Regions from separate parts of the Homo sapiens genome. Here all the other regions are linked to region 1. The links are contacts of gene promoters, found by promoter capture Hi-C in blood cells and fetal thymus (Javierre and others, 2016). All regions are on one chromosome and are shown on one strand. The core of a region is centred on a gene start or on the middle of the fragment in contact, and the rest is flanking DNA. Distances in the headings are between cores, read along the strand shown. Region 1 holds the start of ZNF439 (zinc finger protein 439). Region 2 has its middle 29 kb from the start of ZNF564. Region 3 has its middle 11 kb from the start of ZNF709.

The links. The method cuts DNA at HindIII sites, captures the fragments that hold promoters and counts their contacts. A CHiCAGO score of 5 or more calls a contact.
Region 2: a fragment that was not itself captured here is called in contact with the fragment with the promoter of ZNF439 in region 1 in 1 of 17 cell types (erythroblasts); the score reaches 6.3 in erythroblasts.
Region 3: a fragment that was not itself captured here is called in contact with the fragment with the promoter of ZNF439 in region 1 in 5 of 17 cell types (fetal thymus, naive CD4 T cells, non-activated CD4 T cells and 2 more); the score reaches 11.6 in fetal thymus.

The regions. Positions count from the first base shown.
Region 1 is chr19:11,847,298-11,850,199 of GRCh38, reverse strand. It overlaps ZNF439 (zinc finger protein 439), which reads right to left and starts at 1,474. Exons shown (of 4, transcript NM_001348719.2): 1 at 1,270-1,474. The coding sequence starts at 1,332. The HindIII fragment of the contact is 1,093 bases long and covers 520-1,612 here.
Region 2 is chr19:12,521,523-12,524,424 of GRCh38, reverse strand. No RefSeq gene overlaps it. Among named protein-coding and RNA genes, the nearest start is that of ZNF564, 29 kb to the left of the region's middle. RefSeq lists a silencer at 2,096-2,390. The HindIII fragment of the contact is 5,681 bases long and covers 1-2,902 here.
Region 3 is chr19:12,494,134-12,497,035 of GRCh38, reverse strand. No RefSeq gene overlaps it. Among named protein-coding and RNA genes, the nearest start is that of ZNF709, 11 kb to the right of the region's middle. RefSeq lists enhancers at 1,413-1,492, 754-1,633, 1,634-2,514 and a silencer at 1,683-1,732. The HindIII fragment of the contact is 913 bases long and covers 952-1,864 here.

The DNA of each region.
Region 1 (2,902 bases), core at 225-2,724:
CAGGAGGCTGAGGCAGGAGAATCCCTTGAACCCAGAAGGCAGAGGTTGCAGTGAGCCGAGATCGAGCCATTGCACACCAGCCTGGGCGACAGAAGGAGACTCCGTCTCAAACAAAAACAAAAACAAACAAAGTACCTTCCCAGCTAAGTGAAGTGACTGGCTCTTGGCCAAGGGAACCCCCAAAACACCCTGAAAATTGAGTGCCTCTGTATGACAGGATGGGAGGTGAGACAGGTCTCCTTATACCCTCTCCCTTTAGGAGTTTACATGCAGCAACTGACGCACATTCATGTAAAAACAGACATTCTCTGACTGGAAAAACAGACTCCTTGTGGCAACAAGATACCAAATTACAAACAAGACCTAAGGCCACGCAAGGCAAAGGTAAAGTTACGTCTTAGAATTCATAAAATCTAGAGAAACAGGACTGTTTTTTGGCTGGGATGGAATGAAGTGGCAGATAACAGACCCCCTTCCTTCAGCATTCCTTCCTACCTCCTCCAAACTTTAGACAAAGCTTCACACTCTCAACCAGCTGCCACCTACAGAATCCCTCAACCACCTGTGCCTCCTAACCCCCCTTCCACAGGTCCCACCCTTTCTGCCAATGGAATTTACACCTTCCAGCCTTGATCCATCATTTTCCCTGCAATTCCTGTCTCTCTGAAATGAATAAAACCAAACTGTCCTGAGCCGCCTCCGGACCACTTACTCCAGGCTGCTTGGGGTTGTGTTTCCCTCGGCCAAGGTCTCTCCTACTCGGCTCTGAATACACTTCTGTATTTTACATAGTCTGTTTTTTTTCCGTTGACAAACCACAAGCCAGGACCGGGTGTTTCTCATTCGTGAATGGCTGTTTCCTCAAATGAACTTTTTGTTAACGTACCTCAGTATAATTTTTAACAGGAGAAAGTGGAGGCTGTGGGCCCCACAGACCGCTGCTCCTCCTACGGACGAAATCCACACCCGAGTCGAAATCCGCGCATGACCCTCCCGTGGCCCCCGCACAAGCTGGGGCGTCGGGCTGCGGGCGCGGAGCTGCACAAAAGGGCTTCGGGGCCAAGGCCGCAGTCGACGGGCAGGGACGGGACAGGACGCCCGGAGTCCCGGCTGCCGGCCCACCCACATCCAGCGGCCGCGGGGACCGAGGGCCGAGCAGCTCTAGGAGGACTCGGTCCCAGACCCCGGAGTCGCCCACAGGGAGGCCCGGGTCCCGCCAGTTCCAGGCAGCCCCTCCCCCATCGCACCACTCCCGGCCAGCACACGCACCATTTCCCGGCTTTCAGATGTACCGGGGTCCTCTCTACAGCTCCTGTGAGTAAAGCAGGGCATAGCGCAGGTGACAGAGCGACAGAAATCTGGGTAGAGGCACTAGGTCCCTCTCGGGGCTGGAAAGGCCAGATCCCAACCGCCGCCCTCGCAGCGACAAAGGTGACGGCAGGAATGCAACATCCTCCGTGCCTGGATGCACAGTGGGCAGGGCCCCGAGCCAGTGCCTCTGATTGGATGGAATGTTCGGCCCCGCCCCCCACGTCTAAGTGACAGCGGAAGCCCTGGGTATCAGGCCCTGCGGAGCCAGACTGACAGATTCTAGCAACAGCTTCTCTAAGCTTACACGAGCTGCTTCCTGCACTCGGGTTATTGGATAGTTGCATTTCAGCCAAACTTGCTATTGTTAGAAGAGAACACTAGCGTCTTCCTCACTCAAAGGACTGTCCCCGCTCCTTCGTTCTGCACGGGGTCACAGGAGTGTGCAGGGAATTTCAGACTCAGTGTCCACAGGAGCCATCTCCTGCCTCAGAGCAGCAGGGGAACCGAGACCAGGCCAGGCAAGACTGCACCAGGAGGAGAGGCATATTTCCTCGAGCGGGCCGGAATTGGGGATGAGGCATGGCCAAGACTTGCTCACACACCCCCATCCCCTCCTCACAGTATGAAAATGCTCCGTCCTTCCAGATCTTCATTTTCACCTGCAGGAAACTCTCACCTGGGGTTAAGCTTCGGACCTAAATAAACTGTCAACCTCATAAACCTTTTATCCAGGTGACGCCACCAAACAATTGTGTCTCTAGCCTGATTTTCACACATTTTCTTTATATATACAAATAACTCTGACTCCAGCGACCCCATGTATGTCAAACCCCAAACCCTGCCCAGAAGACAGCCCCAGGCTCCAGAGGTACAACACCAGAAAGGACAGAACCCCACAAATGCGTCTGCACGAAGGTCTTCTGCTTTCCAGGGCCCTACAGCTTCTCGGAATCCACACTCCTTCTGGAGCTGCTCTGAGCAGCTGGAGGCCACCTGTAGGGGAGGGCGGGCTGCCCAGGAAGCCCCCAGGAAAAGCTCCTTTCCCTTCCTTTGCAGGCTCCAGACTGGCCTCAGCGTGGAGTCACTGGCCTCGGGCTCTGCTGCCCCTGCAGGTTATTCAGCTACTTCTCACCCCATTGATCAGTTCCATGACACAAACACCCTCAATCCCATTGTGTGAATAAGACACCAGCAGAGTCCCTGCTCTCCTCCTATGTTTATGTATAAAGTGGGGAAGGAAAATTCTAAGATAACTTAAGTACATTTAAAAGACTTCCAGATCGCGGTGGAGGTGGCAGCGGAGGGACCCACGGTCACTGACACTGCAGCACCTCCAGGCCTGTCTGGTCAGAGAAAGGGTGGAAAGCTGGAGATGGATGTGGATACGTGGAGGGAGCAGCCCTGGGAACTGGGCTCTGCAGCAGCGCGGCTCTAGGGCCTGGAGCCCGGGAGAGCACAGATGGGGGCTCCTGGGACAGGATGCTCAAAGAAGAGTCAGGTGGCTTCCATGAAATGGGGTGCTATGGCAGCTGGTGAGGGCCTGTGGCTATCATAATTTGGGACGTGAAAACTTGGATTCCGTGGGAATTTA
Region 2 (2,902 bases), core at 300-2,799, 670 kb before region 1:
TGGAGTGCAGTGGTGAGATCTTGGCTCACTGCACCCTCTGCCTCCCAGATTCAAAGGCTTCTCATGCTTCAGCCTCTTGAGTAGCTGGGATTACAGGTGCGCACCACCACACCCAGCTAATTTTTGTATTTTTAGTAGAAACGGGATTTCGCCATGTTGGCCAGGCTGGTCTTGAACTCCTGATCTCAAGTGATCTGTCCGCCTCGGCCTCCGATAGTGCTGGGGTTACAGGCGTGAGCCACTGCGCCTAGTCTCTAGGTCTCTTTCCTACTTGTTCTCAGCACTGTTTTTTTCGTTTTTCTATCCATGAGGGACCTGTTCCTACACAGTCCATTTGGATTTTAGTAGGCATTTAGATTTGATCCCCAGGATTGACTTCCCTGTCTCCTCCCCCCTTCACTGTAGACCTGGACCTCACTCCCAGACCCAGGGCCTATGATAACCACTTCCCTTTATTGAAGAGGGATACTTTTAATTTCCTCTGCACACTATTCACAGACATGTATATCAAATATATATCTGATAATTTAAGCAAATAGAAATTCTTTGCTCGGAAATCTTTAAGAATATGAGAAGAAATAGCAGCATATAGTGTCCAGAAAAGGTGGGAGAGAACTTCTTAGGTATGGAAAGTTTATGTAATAGGTAATGTGTAACTATTTACCACTAATTCTGTACCTGGGGTAAAGGTGGTGTTCAAGAAATGGAGAGCCAGGCCTGGTGTGGTGGCTTATGTCTGTAATCCCAGCACTTTGGGAGTCCGAGGCAGGCAGATCACTTAAGGCCAGGAGTTCGAGACCAGCCTCGCCAACACAGCGAAACCCTATTTCCACTAAAAACAGAAAAATTAGCTGGGTGTGGTGGTGCACACCTGTAATCCCAGCTACTTGGGAGGCTGAGGCAAGATAATTGCTTGAACCTGGGAGGCAGAGGTTACAGTGAGCTGAGATCACGCCACTGCACTCCAGCCTAGGTGACAGAGCCAGACTCCATCTCAAAAAAAAAAAAAAAAAAAAGCAGTGGATAAATAAGTCACTGCTTGCACAATAAAGAAATAAATGGGCCAGGCACAGTGGCTCATGTCTGTAATCCAGCACTTTGGGAGGGTAAGGCGGATGGATCACGAGGTCAGGAGTTTGAGACCAGCCTGGCCATCATGGTGAAACCCCAACTCTACTAAAAATACGAAAAATTAGCCATGCATGGTGGCTGACGCCTGTAATCCCAGCTACTCAGGAGGCTGAGGCAGGAGAATTGCTTGAACCCAGCAGGCGGAGGTTGCAGTGAGCCAAGATTGCACCACTGCACTCTAGCCTGGGCGACAGAGTGGGACCCCATCGCAAAAAAAAAAAAAAAAACAAAAAACAACTCTGCAAGGAAATGAAGCAAGTGATCCCTCTTGGAGTGGATTTCATGAAGTACCTTTAAATGGCAGAACATCAGGTTTCCATTTCCAAAATTATTTTTCTTCATGCTCTGACTGAAATAGTGACTGGTGTTGGAGAAACGGGTGGAAGATAGCGTAATAAACCAAATTGTTCTTTCTAGTGGGGAAAGCATGAATCACCCAAAACTAATAATCACGGAATTTACTTACATGGTATGGAAGAATAAGCAACCATAGAAGAAATCAGAATAGTTGTCACAGAACTAATTTACAAGCATTAGTGCTGTTTCCCAGGCCAGGTTCTATCTTGTTCTCAAGGAATAGTTACATCTTCAGTGTAAATTATGGGTACCATTGAGAGAAGTTTTACTTTCTACTTTATGAAAATGATGATGATGACAATAATACCGCAACATGAGTACTGCTAATGGAAACACTTTATGCCCAGGCACAGTGGCTCACGCCTGTAATCCCAGTACTTTGGGAGGCCGAGGTGTGCAGATAGCTTGAGGTCAGGAGTTCAAGACCAGCCTGGCCTACGTGGTGAAACCCCGTCTCTTATTAAAAATATAAAAATCAGCCGGGTGTGGTGGTACACGCCTGTAATTCCAGCTACTCGGGAGGCTGAGACAGGAGAATCGCCTGAACCTGGGAAGCGGAGATTGCAGTGAGCTGAGATCATGCCACCGCACTTCAATCTGTGTGACAGAGTGAGACCCTGTCTCAAACAAAACAAAGCAAAACAAAACGCTTCAGACAGAATTACTGTCAAGCACGTCACGATGCACCTTCTGTGGGTTATCTTACTACATTTTACCTGTCTACTGATGCCCCAGCGTGGCCACAGCCTGAACTGCAGCACCTTCCTGCAGATACCCCTTTTTTAGTGAACAAGTAAATGCTGCTTCTAGTCCCCTTGGTACTAGGTCTGTGCAGAGCACAGAGAAAGATGAATCCAGCCAGAGACTGCCCCAGAGTAACTCCCAGAGGTGGAATGAGTGAGATAATGCTGGGATTGAGATGTTTGATGTAATCTCATGTCTGTTTTTGCTTTTGCTGCCCGTGTGTTTGAGTTCTTATCCACAAAGTCCTTGCACAGACAAGGTCATGTAGAATTTTACTGTTTTCCTTTAGTAGTTTTACAGTTTCAAGTCTTACATGTAAGTCCGTAATCCATTTTGAGTGGATTTTTGTATATGGTGAAAGATAGGGGTCCAGTTTCAATGTTCTGCATGTTGATAATCCAGTTTTCCCATCACCATTCATTGAAGAGACTGTCCTTTCTCCAGTCTGTGTTTTTGGCACCTTTGTCAAAAATCGTTGGTAAGTGTGTGAATTTATTTCTGGTTTCTCTATTCTGTTCCACTGGTCTGTCTATGTTTATGCCAGTACGGTGCTTTTTTGGTTACTTTAGATTTGTAGTCTATTGTGAAGTCATACTCAAGATTGCTTTGGCTATTTTTGTGGTTCCATATGAATTTTAGGATAATTTTTTCGATTTCTGTGAAGTATGGC
Region 3 (2,902 bases), core at 159-2,658, 650 kb before region 1:
ATGGAAAAATTACACCACGAGTGTACCCTAATGTGAAAGCAAAACTCAAACCTAATGTCTAAAAGTAGACCCAAGGAAACTACAATTACAACCTAGACAATTAAAACCCTCCCGGTTCTCCTAAAACCGCGTGCGGTTCCCAGCATTCCAGTGCTCTGTAGCTTCTCTCTGTATAAAGAGCTCTTTCCTTGGTGGGTGAGAGCAAGTAGGACACTTTTGGGGAAGGCTCCCCAGGAAGACCCATCTGGGCTTTCAATGACCTCCCTTTGCAGGCTCAAGAGTGGTCTTAGCTTGAAGTCACTAGTCTCTGGCTGCTGCTCCCCAGTCATGGGGCTTTCAACCGCTATTGATGTTTATTTTTTTGAGACAGGGTCTCCCTCTGTCACCCAGGCTGTAGCGCAGTGGCGAGATCATAGCTCACCGCAGCCTCGACCTCCAGGGCTTGGGCTTAAGTGAGCCTCCCACCTCAGCCCCCTGAGTAGCTGGGACTACAAGCACAGGCCATCATGCAGCTAATTTTTGTATTTTTAGTAGAGACGAGGGTTTCACCATGTTCGCCAGGCTGGTCTCGAACTCCTGACCTCAAATGATCCACCCACCTCGGCCTCCCAAAGTGCTGGGATTACAGGCGTGAGCCATCACGCCCAGTTGAAAGACGGGAACTTTCAAAGTTGCTTTTCTGGTAAAAGTTAAAGCAGAGGGGACTTTCTTTATCATGTTGGCTAAAACTGGCCTGTTGGGGATTTGACCAGCATCTCTTTCTCTCCTGATAATTTGTAAGGTCAGATAAACAACTTAGTTTCAGCTTGGTAGCGAGGAACGTCCCCGTGGGTAACTCATTTTGGTTTGGTCTGTTGGGTCTAGTGCAGGAGCTCAGTCTAAACCAATGGCTTCCTACAAATTGTATTTAACAGGGCAAATAATAATATTATGAATTGGAGAGGGAAAGCTTCATTTGGAATGAAAGAAGGAATTGGCAAATTTAGGGATTTCCTGTCAGTCCTAGGAAGAGCTAGGCTGGAAAACGGGGTCGTGGATTTGAGATCCTGTTTTCACACGTTTGTAAAATTAAGGGGCAAACCGGTCCCCCTGGGGAAAAAGAAGAGACTGGGGACCCCACGGACCACCGCTCCTCCCACGCACGAACGCCACACTCGAGCCGGGATTCCTTCTCTCCTATGACCCTCCCGTGATCCCCACACAATCTTGGAAGACGCGGGGCTACGGGCATGGAGCTGCCCACACAGGGCTCCGGGACCCGGGCCTCAGTAGCCGCGCGGGGACAGGACAGGACTCCCGGGATCCTGGCTGCCGGCCCAGCTTCACTCTGCGGCGGGAGGAGGCCGAGGGCCGAGCTACGCCAGGGGGACTCGGGTTCACAGACCCAGGAGTGGCCGCGGGCAGGCCCGGTTCCCGCGACAGCCGGTTCCGGCCAGCAGCTCTTCAGGTCTCGGGATTCCAGGCCCCGCACAGTCACCATTTCCGGGCTTCCGCGGTGTCCCCACCCCCTAACTACGACTCCCTCTGCCAGTGCGGGTCCCAGAGCGACAGAGGCTGCGGCAGAGCCACCTAGCGACGTTCGAGGCAGGAGAGACACAAACTGGAAATCGCGCCACCGTATCCACGCGCCTTTGTACAGGGCGGCCCCACCCACCGCTCCGGCGGCGTCTCCAATTGGACAGTTTGTGAGGTTCCACCCCCTGTTGCCTGAGTCACATCTCAGACGGAGGTCAGGTAGCTGAGCGATCCAGCTTCCACTTTTGTCCCTGAAACTGTCCTGCCAGAGACATTTGCATTATACCAGAACTTTATATGCTAGATATAAAGGCCCTCAGACCGGACACTGGCGTTTACCGAAGAAGCTTCTGAACGGGGACATAGGTGTGCGCGCAGGGAATGCCAGACAAGAGTTTCCAGATAAAGCGAACCCCTTGATGACTGACTCTTTGAGGAGTAAATCCACAGCAAAAGGGCCCTGGAGGCAAGGCCATACTGGATCAGGAGAGTCAGATATTCTCCAGAGGACAGTGGCTTGGCATCATGCTGCCAGGACACTCAGAACTGTGACCCCGTAGGTTCACAGAGACCAGGCAATGTTTACATTTTTAATTTTAAGTTTTGTTGTGGGTACATAGTAGGTGTATATATTTATGAGTTACATGAGATATTTTGATGTAAGCATGCAATGCCTAATAATCACATCATGGTAAATGGGGAATCCATCAACTCAAGCATTTATCCTTTGTGTTACAAACAAGCCGATTATACTCTTTTAGTTATTTAAAAATGTGCAACCAAATTATTTTTTACTATAATCACCCTGTTATGCTAGCAAATACTAGGTCTCATTCATTCTATTTTTTGTGGCCATTAACCATCTTCACTTCCCCTTCCCCCAACCCCCGCACTACCCTTTCCAGCCTCTGGTAACCATCCTTCTACTCTCTATCTCCATGAGGTCAATTGTTTTAATTTTTTGCTCCCAAAAATAAGTGAGAACATGTGAAGTTTGTCTTTCTGTGCCTGGCTTATTTCGCTTAACATAATGACCTCTAATTCCATCCAAATTGTTGCAAATGACAGGATCTCATTCTTTTTTATGGCTGAATAGTACTCCATTGTGTATTTGGAACATTTTTTTTTTAATCCATTCATCTGTTGAGGGACAGTTAGGTTGCTTCTAAATCTTGGGGATTGTGAATAATGCTGCAATAAACATAGGAGTGCAGATATCTCTCTTCAATACATGGATTTCCTTTCTTTGGGGTATTTACCTAAAAGTGGGGTTGCTGGATCAAATGGCAGCTCTATTTTTATTTTTTTTGTGTGTGTGGAACCTCCAAACTGTTCTCTATAGTGGTTGTACTAATTTACATTCCCACCAACAGTGTACAAAGGTTCC